Linked DNA regions of Homo sapiens: region 2 is linked to region 1. Evidence: promoter capture Hi-C in 16 types of primary human blood cells and fetal thymus (Javierre and others, 2016). All regions are on one chromosome and are shown on one strand. The core of a region is centred on a gene start or on the middle of the fragment in contact, and the rest is flanking DNA. Distances in the headings are between cores, read along the strand shown. Region 1 holds the start of ADAMTS6 (ADAM metallopeptidase with thrombospondin type 1 motif 6). Region 2 overlaps ADAMTS6 (ADAM metallopeptidase with thrombospondin type 1 motif 6).

Region 1 (7,661 bases), core at 2,814-5,313:
GCTGCTGGCAGTCCTCACAGCCCTTGCTCGATCTGGGCGCCTCCTCTGCCTGGGCTCCCACTTTGGCGGCACTTGAGGAGCCCTTCAGCCCGCCGCTGCACAGTGGGAGCCCCTTTCTGGGCTGGCCAAGGCCAGAGCTGGCTCCCTCAGCTTGCGGGGAGGTGTGGAGGGAGAGGTGCAGGCGGGAACCGGCGCTGCGTGCGGTGCTTGCAGGCCAGTGCGAGTTCCGGGTGGGCGTGGGCTCGGCAGACCCTGCACTCGGAGCAGCCCGCCGGCCCCACTGGCCCCGGGCAGTGAGGGGCTTAGCACCTGGGCCAGCAGCTGCTGTGCTCAATTTCTCGCGGGGTCTTAGCTGCCTTCCCGCAGGGCAGGGCTGGGGCCTGCAGCCTGCCACGCCTGAGCCTCCCCCCCGGCCTCCGTGGGCTCCTGTGCTGCCTGAGCCTCCCCGACGAGCACTGCCCGCTGCTCCAGGGCGCCCAGTCAACCACCCAAGGGCCGAGGAGTGCGGGCACAAGGGGCGAGACTGGCAGGCAGCTCCACCTGCAGCCCCGGTGCGGGATCCACTGGGTGAAGCCAGCTGGGCTCCTGGGTCTGGTGGGGACTTGGAGAACCTTTTTGTCTAGCTAAGGGATTGTAAATACACCAATGGGCACTCTGTATCTAGCTCAAGGTTTGTAAACACACCAATCAGCACCCTGTGTCTAGCTCAGGGTTTGTGAATGCACCAATAGACACTCTGTATCTAGCTACTCTGGTGGGGCCTTGGAGAACCTTTATGTGGACACTCTGTATCTAGCTAATCTGGTGGGGAGGTGGAGAACCTTTGTGTCTAGCTCAGGGATTGTAAACGCACCAATCAGCACCCTGTCAAAACAGACCACTGGGCTCTACCAATCAGCAGGATGTGGGTGGGGCCAGATAAGAGAATAAAAGCAGGCTGCCTGGGCCAGCAGTGGCAACCTGCTCGGGTCCCGTTCCACACCGTGGAAGCTTTGTTCTTTCGCTCTTTGCAGTAAATCTTGCTGCTGCTCACTGTTTGGGTCCACACTGCATTTATGAGCTGTAACACTCACAGCGAAGGTCTGCAGCTTCACTCCTGAGCCAGCGAGACCACGAACCCACCAGAAGGCCGAACACATCTGAACATCAGAAGGAACAAACTCCGGACACGCTGCCTTTAAGAACTGTAACACTCACCTGAGAGTCCGCAGCTTCATTCTGGAAGTCAGTGAGACCAAGAACCCACCAAATTCCGGACACAGGAGGATCACTTGAGGCTGAGTTCGTGACCAGCCTGGGCAACAGGGAGACCCTATCTCTACAAAAATAAAAACTTAGCTGGGGATGGTGGTTCATGCCTGTAGTTCCAGCTAAAATATATGTATTTTTTATTAGTCAATTTAAATAAGTAAATAGATAATAAAAATTTTAAAAAGAGACAAGAGAATGGCGGTTACATGGGCCAGTTGACTTGTGAAAATTCATTAGACTGGACACTTGTCATCAAACTATGTAATTATACATTTTTCTGCATGAATATTTTCAATTAAAAGTTTATTAAGAAAAGATGGAGCCATTGCAATGTATGGATCTTGATTCTAATAAAAAGGCATTTTTTAAAGCCCTTTTTGCAATTGGGAAATCTGAGTACAATATTTGATGACATGAGTTATTAATGTTTTAAGAATAATAGTGGTGTATATTTTTTTAGTACTTTTAGAAATACAGGGAAATAATGAAACGATATCTGATGAAATGATAGATGAAACAAAGTTGGTCACACTTGGACACTTGAAACTGGATGATGGCTACATGAGTGTTCATTATACTGTTTTTTTTTTTACTTTTGTATATGTTTGAAATTTTCTGCAATGCAGTTAAAACATTTACACAAACACATATATATACACATATATAAAGTTAAATTGACAGTTCGCCATTTCCCACCCTAATCAATTTTCACCAATTATTCACAGTATTCTTGACCCAATCAACTTGGAGACAGAATCTGTTGGAAAAATTTCATTACTCTGTTTAGACACAGGATGGCACTCTTTGAATAAGTAATTAGCCAAAGTCCACTCCCACTAAGTAAGCTCCTCTACAAGCTGCTACTTTGTAGGGCAGTTTATCTTAGTTGAGGGTAAAATCTTTTCAGAGCTTATATAGATGTTTACTGCTCATACCTTTATTTTTTGTGTGTGTGCTGGCTGTCCCTATTTACTGCCAGTACTTGAAAAATTAAGGAAGGTTAAGGTTCAACACTATTTAAATAGTCATTTGATGCCTACTTTTCTTATTTTTGGTGTTTACAATTATTGCTATATTTTGCTACCTCATGTATTTCACATATATGTACACACATATATATACACATACAAATACGCACACATACATACATACATATGAATCATCTTTATTTAAAACTCAATGCCCACTATTGAACAGATTTCTACATTTTAAATGGCTTTTAGCCAGATACTACTGATTAAGGTCAGGATGAGGACTATTTACTCTGTGGACAGATGCTTTCCACTTTCAACCCTTGAAGAAGAATTGAAATAACTGTATTCTTGGACGTTCTCAGTCTGATTCATGCCTCCTTTTAGCCAACTATTCATAGATTCACCAGAAGAATTACACCTACTACCTCCGGCGTAGGAAGAAAAAAAAAAATCAAATGGGCAATAATGTTAGCAGAAGCTTGATATTTAAGAGCTGGTATTCAGAAAGATCATCCTTCCTACCCCCTTCCCTCCGGTCCAGTTCTCCTTTCTGGTTCTCACCATCGGAAATTGACTTGGCATTAACTAAGGGCTGGAATTTCAAGGCGTCAATTTTCCCCTGCCCCCAACCTCGGAAACTCTTAAACAGCTCCCTATTCTACACTCAATGGTAGAGACAGATAAATGATGCAGCAGATTACACCGTTGAAAGGCAACATTTGTCCTGAGCTATTTTCACATTTTTTCCTGTTTCCGATGTATGTGCCAGACTTTGTTTGCTTGCTTAGGACATGGAAAACACTGGGCATTTTCTCCCCAGCGGCTTTCATTCTCAGCAAATGAAAGTGAAAGTGCTACATTGTAGCGGTATTTTATCCTTAAAGTCTGGACTGGCAGCTTGTGTGTAGGGGGGAGGGAGGGTGGGATTGGGAAGGTTGAAGAACCAGTTTTGAGGTTTTGTTTGTTTATCTTGAGATCGCAGCAGGGTTCCTGTTTTTTTCCCTTCCTTTTTTTTTTTGGTGGTGGGGTCCTACTTCGGATTTATTTTCATTTGGGCAGTCATTGAAGTTTCATTCAATGGACTGACTTAAAAAAATACACTCCACTTGTGGCTTTTCCCGGTTGCACTTTAAAACACCATCCAGTCTCACCCTCATCTGGAAATAATGCAAGCTTCTCTCTTCCTTCCCCCGCTCCCTCCTCCCCTACTTTTTTTTTTTCTTCTTCTTCTTCTTTTAAAGCTCCACATAACCTGAAGTCGATAATCAAATGGAAAATGTGCTGGTATTAGTTTACTTTAGTTTACTTTCCCTTTTGGTGCTAACCTTACTTGCTGAAGTATGTATAAAACACAGGCATTTTGTACACTTGTAGCTACTGAGTCTTGTGCCTGCTGCACGAATCTAAGCTTTAAGTTTCCTCAGAGGCACTGTTTGCGTGCAAGTTTTAACATTTTGATTGTGTGGATTTTAAAAATAAAATTACACGGAGAATGACACCAGAGATCTTAACAGTGACATTAGTCCATCTAAAGTCATTCATCCTTCTCCCTCCCCCTTCATTTTTCCAAGAAACAACTAATAGCAAACCAGGCTAGAATTTCTAAGAGAGTTTAGAGGAGGAGGAGGAAAAGAGGCGGAATGAGATAGGACAGAGAGGTTAGAGAGGCCAGAATTTCTCTCATTCACAGTGTGGAAAAGTTGACATTGTCTAAGCCCTTCTGAATGGCTGGTAGTTGGTTACCCCGATTGTACCTCTACCTCCCCTCCCCCTCCACGTGACGACCCAGGACACATGCGCACCCGACGCAGCCCAGGCACATCTGCAGACTGACGTCAGTGTGCTCTGCCTCCGAGGAAAAGCTGCCAAAATTTTCTCCTGCTGCAATTCAAGTTGGCTGGGGGCCGGTAGTGAGATCTAGGGCTACTTCAACAAAACTTTGCTGCCCTTCCTGCTCCTCTTGTCTTCTTTTCTCCTGATACCTTTTGATGCTCTGCACATGTTATTTGCATAGCAAAGGCACTAAGCTTTCCAGGAAGAGAGGGCACCACTTCCACCCCCAATAAGTCTTTTTTCCCGTCTTTTCTTTCTTTTCCTTTCCTTTTTTGGGGGGTGGGGAGGGAGAGAAAGGGGGTTTGCAAAGGCAGCATCTCAGAGTGATAGCCTAGATGTATTGAAGGCATCTCTTATTCTGCCAAATCGGAAAGTCAGTTCTCTAAAGCCCGGGTTAGCCAGACCATAGGGTTTTATTCTGGCTGCAGAATAACTGGCTGGTGTGGCTTTGCAAAGGGGGGCAAAAAATAAAAAAATAAAAAAAATTAAAAAAAGTTAGAGAGGAGAGGGAGTACGTGAGTCGTCCAGTGCAATCTCTATTGTCTGAAACTTACTTTTTATCAGAATTTGAAGATGAAAACGGTAAGGAAGACTTAACAATATTCAATGGAGCTTTTTTTTTTTAAACCAACAACTTGTGCTTTGCTTGTCTTCCGAATAACGCTTAGAAAACTTTTTTTCTGTGTGTGTGTTTTTTTTTTTTTTTTTAATGGCAATGAGTGAGCTTGACTGAACTCATTTTACAAATAGATATCTTTTTAACTCCAGACTTGTCGGGGGTTGTAGAATTCTGGGACTTGCAGTTATTTTATGATGCAAAAAAAATACGTTTATTTTATGAATATACAATACATGTTTTGTGAAGTGGACTTGATTATGATTATTGTAATCTTTTAACTGATCACCAAATAGTAATCCGGAAGGTAATAATGATGTGTGTGTTTTAAATTGATTTCCAGTTTTCTTACAGAAAAGTCTTATGCATTTTGTAGTTTCATGTCAGTGTCGTTAAGTCTTCAGACAAGTGCATATTTTATGCCTGGGCTCAGAGGGTAGCATTAATGTGCTAGCTGTAGCCCCGATGCTCTAGGACATGTTAAGCTCTTAATAGGCTAATCAAAGAGATGGAAACGTGTGTTTTTGATTTACTTTTGGCCACTTGGGACGTGCTAGACTCATAACCCTCCGGAGCCTTGTTTATCGGGGTAGGTCTGTATATATGGTGTATGGGACCAAAGTTCAGGGATTGAGGAGGGAGAGTGAGAGTGCAGGAATGGGGTATTGGGAAGCCTCTTTCTGATAATATGTGCTACAATTCCTGTCTTTGATGCTTTCTTTCCCTGTACTAGAGGAAAAGTGAGCGAGAGATTGAGAAAGCGCACTGAGAGGGAACAAGAGAGTGAGTTTCTTACTCTTGTTTTTATTTGAGCTGCCGGTGCAACGCGTTTGGGCCAGATGCCAACTGTCTGGGTCACACGCGTTTTATCCAAATAGATTTAGCGCTGCTGTCTGGAAATGGGCTGCTGAATGTTAACTTTAGGATCAACTCAACCAGGGCAGCTCAGACTGTTACCCTCTGTCTGGGCGAAGTGGAATGGTGGGGGCGGGGGGAGGTGAGGGTGTGCAGAGCAGAGAGAAAAAGGGAAACTGAACCATTGCTTGGAACTTTAAAAGAGACACTTGAGTGTGATTTTCAACATGTTCTTTTTATGTTCAAGTGTCGTGGACTAATTTTCTGTTCTTTTTTCTTTCTTTTTAGTTTCTGTTGATTAGACTGAAATGTTTAGATGTGGGGATGACAGTTTTCAGAATTCATGACAGGAAAAGAAACGTAACACAAAATTGGTGTAGTTGAAAGAAATTAAGAAAATTAATTTTGGAGATAATTGTTTTCTTGTGTTGCAGCAAAGTGGTAACTGCAGTCTGGTTTATGTTAATTCTGTGCTTAAATGTGATCGTTAGTGTTTTGAATTTTTGAAGAATAGCATTTAGAGGCAAATACGTTGATTTCAAACAAATCAAATTCATTCATTTGCCACAGCTGCAAATGAAGTCTGTGTAGTGGTCTTAATATTTTTGTGATTCCCAAGAAGAAAAACTTCTAGCCTGAAGACTGAAAATACTGTAATACTCCTTATGTCTGGTCCCAATACCTGTAAGATTAATTCCTACTCTTGTCTACTCTTAGCACTTCCTCTTTCTTTCCTTAGTAATCACTAGTAGTAGTAACTAGGATGGGTCTTTATGCCAAATTTTATCAAGTTTGTGACTTTAGTGAGTGAATGAAGGGAGTTACCATATTAAGAGATAGTTAACAGCATATTTGGAATATGTGTTGGGGGTAGTGGGGAGAAAAAGAGGGGAAGAGGTGGATAGCTCTCTTGCTTCTGCCAAAAAACATGGTTGATTATCAAGCTAAGCTCAAGAGAAAAAATTTATAATACAGAAAATGTGTATTTACTTGCTATCTGGAAAAAAGTGTGAGACTACATGTAATTTAGGGCTTGAGTTTTATAAATCATGGTTTGTATTTTTGCTTTTAGCTCATTTGCTTGATAGATATGTTTTGGGTAATTTATGTGTTTAGTTTCACCTTTCCTTGGAAACCAATCTCACAAATTTTATAAATGATCTAGAAACCTTTATACTTAGAGCCTAATTGTGTCCTTAGCATACAGTAGGTGATAATAAATGTGAGAGAATAAATGGAAATGAAAGAAGTTAATTTTCATATGTAAAAATTAAACACCTGAAAGGAGCATGGTATTGTTGTTTCTTCCATGGAGACCAAATCAGCCTTAAATAAATAACCAGAGTTAAGATGGATGAAAGAAGTTGAGAAGAACATTATACACATTCTTTAGCTTCATAATAATAGTTCACAAGAGGAAATTATTACCTTGGCTACTCCCCGATCACTTGAGTGGGAAGTAAAGATGATAGAGGAAAAAAGACAAGTAATACCCTCCAATCAGGGCAGACTACTGAGGAAATCACTATAGTGCAAGTTGTCTCATCATTTTTCTTCTTAGGTAGTGTAGCTTTGATCCATGGAAGCAGGTAAATGATCCCTTAACTTTACTGCCTGGTGCATTTGTGTTAGGGAGAAAAGCATATGTGAAATCAAAGTGAAATGGACGTTTTGGTTCTGTTTTCAAATTTAAAGTAGTTATAAGTATCATTATCATGACCAAAGTTCTTAACTCCTTGCTGTAAAAGACAATATAACTAGTTGATTGACTCCATCATCATATCTATTATTTCACATTTTTGAGGGAAAGAGGAACATGAAACTATTTTTGAAGGAAGGGCTTTGAAAAGTGATGTTAGATAATGAAGGAAGGAGGGCTAATATTATTTAGCTTAAAGTACAGAGACACTTTACGTCATATGTAATCTAATCTCTTAACAAGTCTTTGTGAGATAGACATCAATATCATGGTTTTATAGATTAGAAAGCAGATGCAGAGAGGTTAAGTAACTGGGGGTCAGGCCAGGACTCAAAGCCTTTGTGCTTTCCACAACATAATGATGTTTCTGCTATACAATTTAAAAGGTCAATGCATTGTGATTTTTGGACAACTGTTTGGTATTTCAATGTTA
Region 2 (7,661 bases), core at 3,667-6,166, 270 kb after region 1:
TTCTTCTGTTTTTAATTCCCCCTTGTGAGGTAGGAAGGGGCAGGTTTTATTATCTCTGCTTTACAGGTGATGAAATTAAGGTAAATAAAGATAAAATGATTTACCCAAGGGTGTTAGAGCTGTGCAGAGTTAAGGCCATAGTGCTCTTGCTTGAATAGTATTTTTATAACCAAACAAGACAGATGAAAGCAATGGCTCCAAAATACCCATGAAAATGGGAGGAGAAAATTTGATATAAATGCATGTGTTTTATATTAAGTTTCCTGTAAGACTTGTTTTGACATTTTCTTCTTCAAAAGGAATAATAAATATCTGAATGAAGGCTCATTGTATTTTAATTGTCTTCACCAGTTGTTTTCAATGGCAGGTTCTGCTTCAAGAACAGAATTTGGGAATTAGGTATAAGTTCAATGTTCCCATCACTCGAACTGGCAGTGGAGATAATGAAGTTGGCTTTACATGGAATCATCAGCCTTGGTCAGAATGCTCAGCTACTTGTGCTGGAGGTAAGATGCCCACTAGGCAGCCCACCCAGAGGGCAAGATGGAGAACAAAACACATTCTGAGCTATGCTTTGTGTTTGTTAAAAAAGCTAATTGGAAACATTTCTTGCAGGTTTGCTTCAAGCTGTAATTTAGCAAAAGAAACTTTGCTTTAATTATATTATATTCCATTTGTTTTCAACCTCATGTAATTTGTGCAGATTTGTTGGTAAAATACATCTTGGCACAATGAGTGTCTCTGCTGGTGCTTCTCCCAAGACTATCTTGAAGGTGGGCTGTTTGCCTTTCGTGAACACATTCTTGGTAAAGAACATCAAAAGTTTTAAAAAAGAAAATGAGCAAGAATCAGACATCACAGATGCAACTTCTTGTAATGGGAGATGAGAATGTACGGCTGTGTGCTTGTTGTGTGTGTTTGTGTGCCTGTGTGTTTGCCACAATCCTATTCAAACTCCCTTCTCCTGCCATCAAAGTTAAGGGGCTGTATACTGGGATGCTACAATAATTACTGGTATCTGGGTTCTGGGTTAATGGTGTATACTGACCCCATTACAGTCCCTCAGAGGTAGCTGCTAGGCGGTGGTTGGTGATGTGTTGGTTGTCCCATGTGCGTTTTTCATGGGTGCCTTTTCCCTACAATTTACTCTATTCCTAATCCTCCTCCCTCTAGTGGCCACCAATGCAATTCTTTACCTCTGGCTGGGAGAGCAGGACAGTTGGCTTCCTTCAAAGCCAACACCCTTGCTGCTGCATGGACTGGTGAGTAGAAGTGCTGTGCAAGCAGCATCTTCCTTCTCTCTGGAGACTAAATGCATCGCCTCCACCGTACACCTTGATCCTAACAGGCAAGGAAACAAACCTGTCCTTCAGGCCTAGGCTGGACTAGATCACCTCACCATTCCAGAAGCAAAGATTAAATTTTAAATAGTGATATTTATTTTGGGAAAAATTAAAATAAAGTAAATCATCCAATACATTACCTATACTCCTTTTTTAAACTATGCAGAAATATATGATTTTTATATAGACTTCATCCTGTCTTGTATTTGCATCTTCTGATTTTCAAGTCTTAAATCAGAGAGGTTATTTTTAGAGAAATAATTAACATATAATCTATTCAGTATTTTTATTTTATTTTATTACTTATTACTTTTTTTTTTTTGAGACAGGTTTTTGCTCTGTTGCCCAAGCTGGAGTGCAGTGACACGATCATGGCTCACTGCAGCCTCAACCTCCTGGGCTCAAGTGATCCTCCCACCTCAACCTTCTGAGTAGCTAGGGAGCACGCCACCACACCTGGCTAATTTTAAAAATTTTTGTAAAGACAGGATCTCACTGTGTTGCCTAGGCTTGTCTGGAACTCCTGGCCTCAAGCATTCCTCCTGCCTCAGTCTCCCAAAATGCTGGGATTATGGGCATGGGCCATCACGCCCAGCCTAATTCAGTATTTTTAGTCTCATACAGAATTAAAGCAATGATTAACTACAACTCCAATTTCAATATAAAGTCTATACAACATGAAAAAAACAAAAAAGATGAATAATAATATATTAATGTACTCTACTGTGTAAAGTATCATGAAACATGGTTATGTATAATTCGTGACATATTTTAAAAGATCTCTAGTTCCCATCCATTTTATGTGTAAAATGGCTGGTGATTTGTAATGTAAAGTTTTTAAAGCCATAGGACATTACCATTTTTAAATAAAGAAATATTTGCAACTAATTGATCAAGTATATGCCATTGCATTATTTTTAGTGGCATTTATACATATATCTATCTTTTATCCAATTCAATTCTTTTTATTCTATAAATTAACTTTTCCCTTTGCATATTCCAACAAAAAGTCTTCTAGAACAATACATACATAATTCAGGCCCTGAGGCAAGGTGGGATAAACTTATTAAAGAATAATTTAAATAATTTGAAGTTTAGGAAATCTAATAAGGATAGTCTAAAGTTAAAGTGGATTAGCTTGGAGAAAAGAAAGCTAAGGGGATGCATATTAGCATACGACAGAAGGTTGAATGGGAAATTCTTAGAGCCGCTTCATCTTTGTACTGAAATTGCTATATTTGGGGATGGTTTAGATACAGTCTTGTCTGAGACCAAGAAAGGATTAAATGAATTCTTAATGTTCCTTCAATCCTATGATTCTATTTGTTCAGAAAGGAGATAATCCAACAAAAAAGCAAAGAAGAAGAAGAGGAAAAAGGCCATGAGAACTGAATTTGGAAGAAAAAAATATAATTTTGTTGAAGTCAGAAAGTAAAAAGTCTAAATGAGTGTTATTTTTTTCCATAACACTTGCATTGAGAAATAGAAGTGATTTCTTGTGGTAGGGGGTAAAAAAAAAAAAAAAAAAAAAAAGAGAGAGAAAAGCCTCTGGAAGGGAGAGCTTTCTCTTCCTTGTTATTTATTCTTCTTTCTGTGATCTGGAGCTACTGGTCTTAGATACTGGAGGTGGTTCTGGGAACTCACATTAGGGTTGGTTGTGGGTGATTATGAGCATTCTTGAGGCTATTGCCTTCTTCAAATGAGGGATATAGAGGGCATGGTGTAAAGAGCTGCCATTTGTTTCGGTAAGTGGTTCTTAAAGTCTGGTCCCGCCAGCAGCATCAACATCATTTAGAAACTTGTTAGAAATGCTAATTTGAGCACCCCATTACAGACCTACTGAACAGAAACTCTTCGAGTGGGGCGCATTAATCTGCGTTTCAACAAGCCCTGCAGGTGATTTTGTTGCTCGCTCAAGTTTGTGTACCACTGGTCTTGGCTGACAGAGAAACCAAACCCAGCACTCTAGACACGTGGAATCCGTGTCTTCATCACTGAAGTCTGTGCATCTTTGTAAACTCATTTTGCCCCTAGAACAATATCCGAAACATAGTAGGGGCCCAATAAGTGCACCTTATTGAGCACCTTAATGAGGCCAATGGTGGCCTCCCAAAATGCTAGATGAGTGAATGAGTAAAAGGAATTAATTTTGGCAATTATATATTTGTGCTTGTCCTTTCTAATGTGGGAGATGAAAGTTTAGAGTTGCTACTTTTCTTATAGAGTGGGGCAAAGCTTTGCCAAGGAAAAACAGTATCATTTTAATTAGCATAGGTAGGTAAAACCAAGCTCCTCTCTTTTTTACTTTGTTTTTTTTGTTTATTTTTTGTTTTGTTTTGGGTTTTTTTGTGTTTTGAGACAGAGTCTCACCCTGTCACCCAGGCTGGAGCACAGTGGTGTGATCTCGGCTCACTGCAACCTCTGCCTCCCGGGTTTAAGTGACTATTCCACCTCAGCCTCCCAAGTAGCTCAGACTACAGGCGCCCACCAACACGCCTGGCTAATTTTTGTATTTTTAGTAGAGACGGAGTTTCACCATGTTGGCCAGGCTGGTCTTGAACTCCTGACCTCAAGTGACCCACCTGCGTCAGCCTCCCAGAGTGCTAGGATTACAGGCGTGAGCCACTGCACCCAGCCATCTTGCTTACTTTGAATAGGTGGAAAATATTTCCTAGGATATAGAGTGCAGGAATCAATTGTTGAAGTTGCTCTTCTTACACTTTTAACCCCAGGTTCTTAAGAAGCTTACTTTTAACCCTCACTTTTAACCCCAGGTTCTTAAGAAGCTTATGATTGAGGGAAGTAAAGTCCCTTTAGAGTTTAGGAACTTTGACCCAAGAAAAAGCCAGAGTCATCTTCTCCTTAATGAAACTTCATTTTATCGTTAAGAAACCCTTCAAGAAGTCATTTCTACTTACCTTTCACTCAGAAACTAAGGATGAATTCTAAAGTCAGTTCTTTTTTTGTTGGTTTTTTGTTTTTGTTTTTGTTTTTGCTGTCATTAAGTCTATTGTCTTTATAAGGGACATTTTGGGATGGTTCCACCTCATCATTTTAACTTCTTTCTTGGGCTTCTCATAGACTGGATTCTCTCCTGTGGCAGCAAGAGCTTTCTTATACATCTTCCCCATCATGTCTGGAGTTACACTGTTCTTTATGTGTTGAGAGAACTGTTTCTTGTAAGCATCTTCATCTTCCTCCATTAAGTAGCACATGTAATCTGAAACATTCTGGCCCATGATGTGCTTCTGGTGTACTTCCACATTAAATTATTTGCTTTCAGAATCATAACCAGGGAATTGTTTGGTACTGTGAGGGATAGACAAGCCTCCATCCATAGCTTCCTTTGGGGTGCCAAAAACTTTATTGCCAGTGGTAGTTCTGGCAAGGCCTGCATCCAGATAGCAGATAAAGACACCTGGTTGAACATCAATGCTTTCCACATTATATTCATCTCCAATCAACTCCGCTTGGCCTTCATAGATCTTTTTTTTTTTTTTTTTTTTGAGACGGAGTTTCGCTCTGTCGCCCAGGCTGGAGTGCAGTGGCGCGATCTCGACTCACTGCAAGCTCCGCCTCCCGGGTTCACGCCATTCTCCTGCCTCAGCCTCCCGTGTAGCTGGGACTACAGGCGCGCGCCACCATGCCCGGCTAATTTTTGTATTTTTAGTAGAGACGGGGTTTCACCGTGTTAGCCAGGATGGTCTCGATCTCCTGACCTCGTGATCCGCCCGTCTCGGCCTTCCAAAGTGCTGGGATTACAGGCGTGAGCCACCGCGCCCGGCCGGCCTTCATAGATCTTATCCATGCCAAACCTATTGAAAAGCCTGTGGGCCAGCAGCAGGCCAATATAGTACGCTGCAGCATCATTTGTCAGGCCAATCTTCACACCATATTTTGGCAGTTCATGTGCGTATGCTGTGCAAACTATCATATCCCCTTACATATGGGCATAAGCAATCTGACAAATGGTATCTCTGTTTGTTATGTGAGCTATCAACCTGTATTTGGGTGTGTGTTTTTTATTTATTTATTGTCTGCCACTTGACAGAGACCTGCAGGCCCAGCAGTGCTAGGTGGGAAAAAGGGATAAAGTCAGTTCTTAACTGAGATACTCCATGTTCATCTCTCCAAGGAGGTGCTGGGTGTCTTGAGGCTGTCAAAATTCTTTTAAGTGGCAAAGAGAAAACAAGAAAGATCTCAAAGAACTTTCGGTGGCAGTCTCACAAGATCCTTCAGTGTTCTCACTTGTTATTTTCCTGCATATGTTTTATTAATATCCAGACCTTTGGGCTTTAATTGAGTTTGGGAGCAATAATGATAGCTTTCTCTTATGAGATCTTTTAAGATAAGAAGCTTGAGACTTTTTCTGTTGCTTAGCAGATCCAGTGACAAATCTAATGCTACAGGAAACATTGGTGATTCAGTCCAAGTAATGGTCTTTTCTCTGAGTCAGTAATGAAACACTTCCTTTGCCTCATAAGGAACATTGAGATGCTATGGGGTGTTGTCTTCAGTATATGTGTGATTTTTGAGATACTGCTGTAACTCTTCCTCAGAGAGAAATCCAAGCCCAAAAACATGGCTATTTCCAGAACCATTGCTACTAGAATTTGTTTCTGTATTCCTTACCCAAACATATTTATACTTTATAATTTACTGACTCCCGAATTTATATGCTACCATTGGATTAGTGATTATAATCAGTTGCTAATTAATGAATCTTGTCTGGGTAGGGAAAGTTGTATTGTTTTAAAATACAAAGCTGTAGGAGATTTTTAAAAGTGGTAATTTATGCCAGTATACCTATGCACTGTGACTTCTAAAGTTTCAAATAACAAATACTGTATATTCATCCTTTGATTTTATTCATACATATTCTCTTTTTACGATGTTTGGCTAGATATGTGGTTCTCAAATTTAAGCACACATCAGAGTTACCTGAAGGGCTTGTTAAGACACAGATTGCAATGTTCTACCAACAATTTCTGATTCAGTAGTCTAGGGGAGGCTTTAAGAATTTACATTTCTAAGTTTCCAGGTGTTGCTGGTGCCACTGGCTCAGGAACTGTACTTCGGGGCTCTGGGGTAGACACTTAGATTTCCTAAAGTAAATGCCCACTAAACAGAGTGACAAGTCTTTTAGGTAATAATCTATATTATAGTTGTAACCATAGTATCACTAATCTTTTTGGTGACAGGTGGTTCTACTGCTCAGCTATGCAATAATAAAATTGTAAAGTTTAAAACATTTTCTGGTACTATATTTCATTTGATCATCTTCAGTAGCTCCATAAGATAGGCAATGAAATTACTAGTCATAATTTATAGGTAGAATTCAAGTAATTTGCTGAAATCAAGACCTAGCAACTTAGTCTCTAGTGACCTTTTTAATTTAGTAATGAGGTGTTCTTTTGTAATAAAAAGAGCTTTTTCACCAGTTGGCTGCCTCAGTAGGGAAACATGATATATCCCCACCCATAAAGATCTCCTTCACTAGCTTGAAATTTCATTTTTTCAAATGCCTTCCATAGAGCAATGGTTCTTAACTTTGGCTGCACAATAGAATACCCAAGGAGAACTTTAAACAATGATGATACTTTGTCCCCACCCCCAGAGAGTCTTCTTTAATTGGCTGGGGGTGTGGCCTGGACATCAGGCTTTGAAAAGTTCCATAGGTAATTCTAACATACAGCCCCGGTTGAGAAGTACTGCTTTTGAAACTGATTAAAAGTTTTAGTCTTCAAAAAATTAACATTCAGATGCAAGTACCTCTGGGAGCATTACTAACACAGATCTCTGTTTTTAAGTGGCTACTAGTTGAATTCTAAGGTTATGAGACTTAGGAATGAGTATCTGGGATGGGAAAGTAGAGAGGAGCATCAGAGAAGGGAATGAAAGAAGGAATAGCATGCCACTTAATTTCATAATTTTGTTTAATATGGCCATTGGCCTTGGGCATGCCTATATATTTACAGTTTTCCTTCACTTGGTGGATCATTTATAAACATCCAATTAATGTAATAAATGCTTTTAAAACTGACTGAAATTGTGCTAAACAGATTTCCCAAAGCTCTTTATTCTGATTTCAAGTTTATCTGATACAGAGCTAAAATGAGTAGATGGTCGGGTATTCAACCAACTTTAATTTAGATGCACAAGTCAGAACAGAAGAGGCATATGGCCCCTGTTTGAACTCAGTTATTATGAACACTGATACAATTTGTTTTCTTTTAAATTACAGTTCTAATCAGAGAAGACCTTCATTTTTTAGGAAGTTACTTTCTTTAAGAGAATGAATCTTTGCAGAATGCAGCA

Evidence for each region. Contacts are between HindIII fragments. The CHiCAGO score rates a contact against its expected background, and 5 or more counts as called.
Region 2: a contact is called between a fragment that was not itself captured here and the fragment with the promoter of ADAMTS6 in region 1, in 8 of 17 cell types (endothelial precursors, megakaryocytes, erythroblasts and 5 more). The highest score is 23.3, in endothelial precursors.

The regions. Positions count from the first base shown.
Region 1 is chr5:65,478,322-65,485,982 of GRCh38, reverse strand. ADAMTS6 (ADAM metallopeptidase with thrombospondin type 1 motif 6) reads left to right here and starts at 4,063. Exons shown (of 25, transcript NM_197941.4): 1 at 4,063-4,640. It overlaps LOC124900986, which reads left to right. Exons shown (of 2, transcript XM_047417970.1): 2 at 1-1,642. RefSeq lists enhancers at 1-303, 304-812, 3,861-3,910, 3,684-4,183, 3,951-4,310. The HindIII fragment of the contact is 619 bases long and covers 3,636-4,254 here.
Region 2 is chr5:65,207,639-65,215,299 of GRCh38, reverse strand. It overlaps ADAMTS6 (ADAM metallopeptidase with thrombospondin type 1 motif 6), which reads left to right. Exons shown (of 25, transcript NM_197941.4): 20 at 368-506. It also overlaps the pseudogene LOC100419140. Among named protein-coding and RNA genes, the nearest start is that of ADAMTS6, 270 kb to the left of the region's middle. The HindIII fragment of the contact is 1,570 bases long and covers 4,132-5,701 here.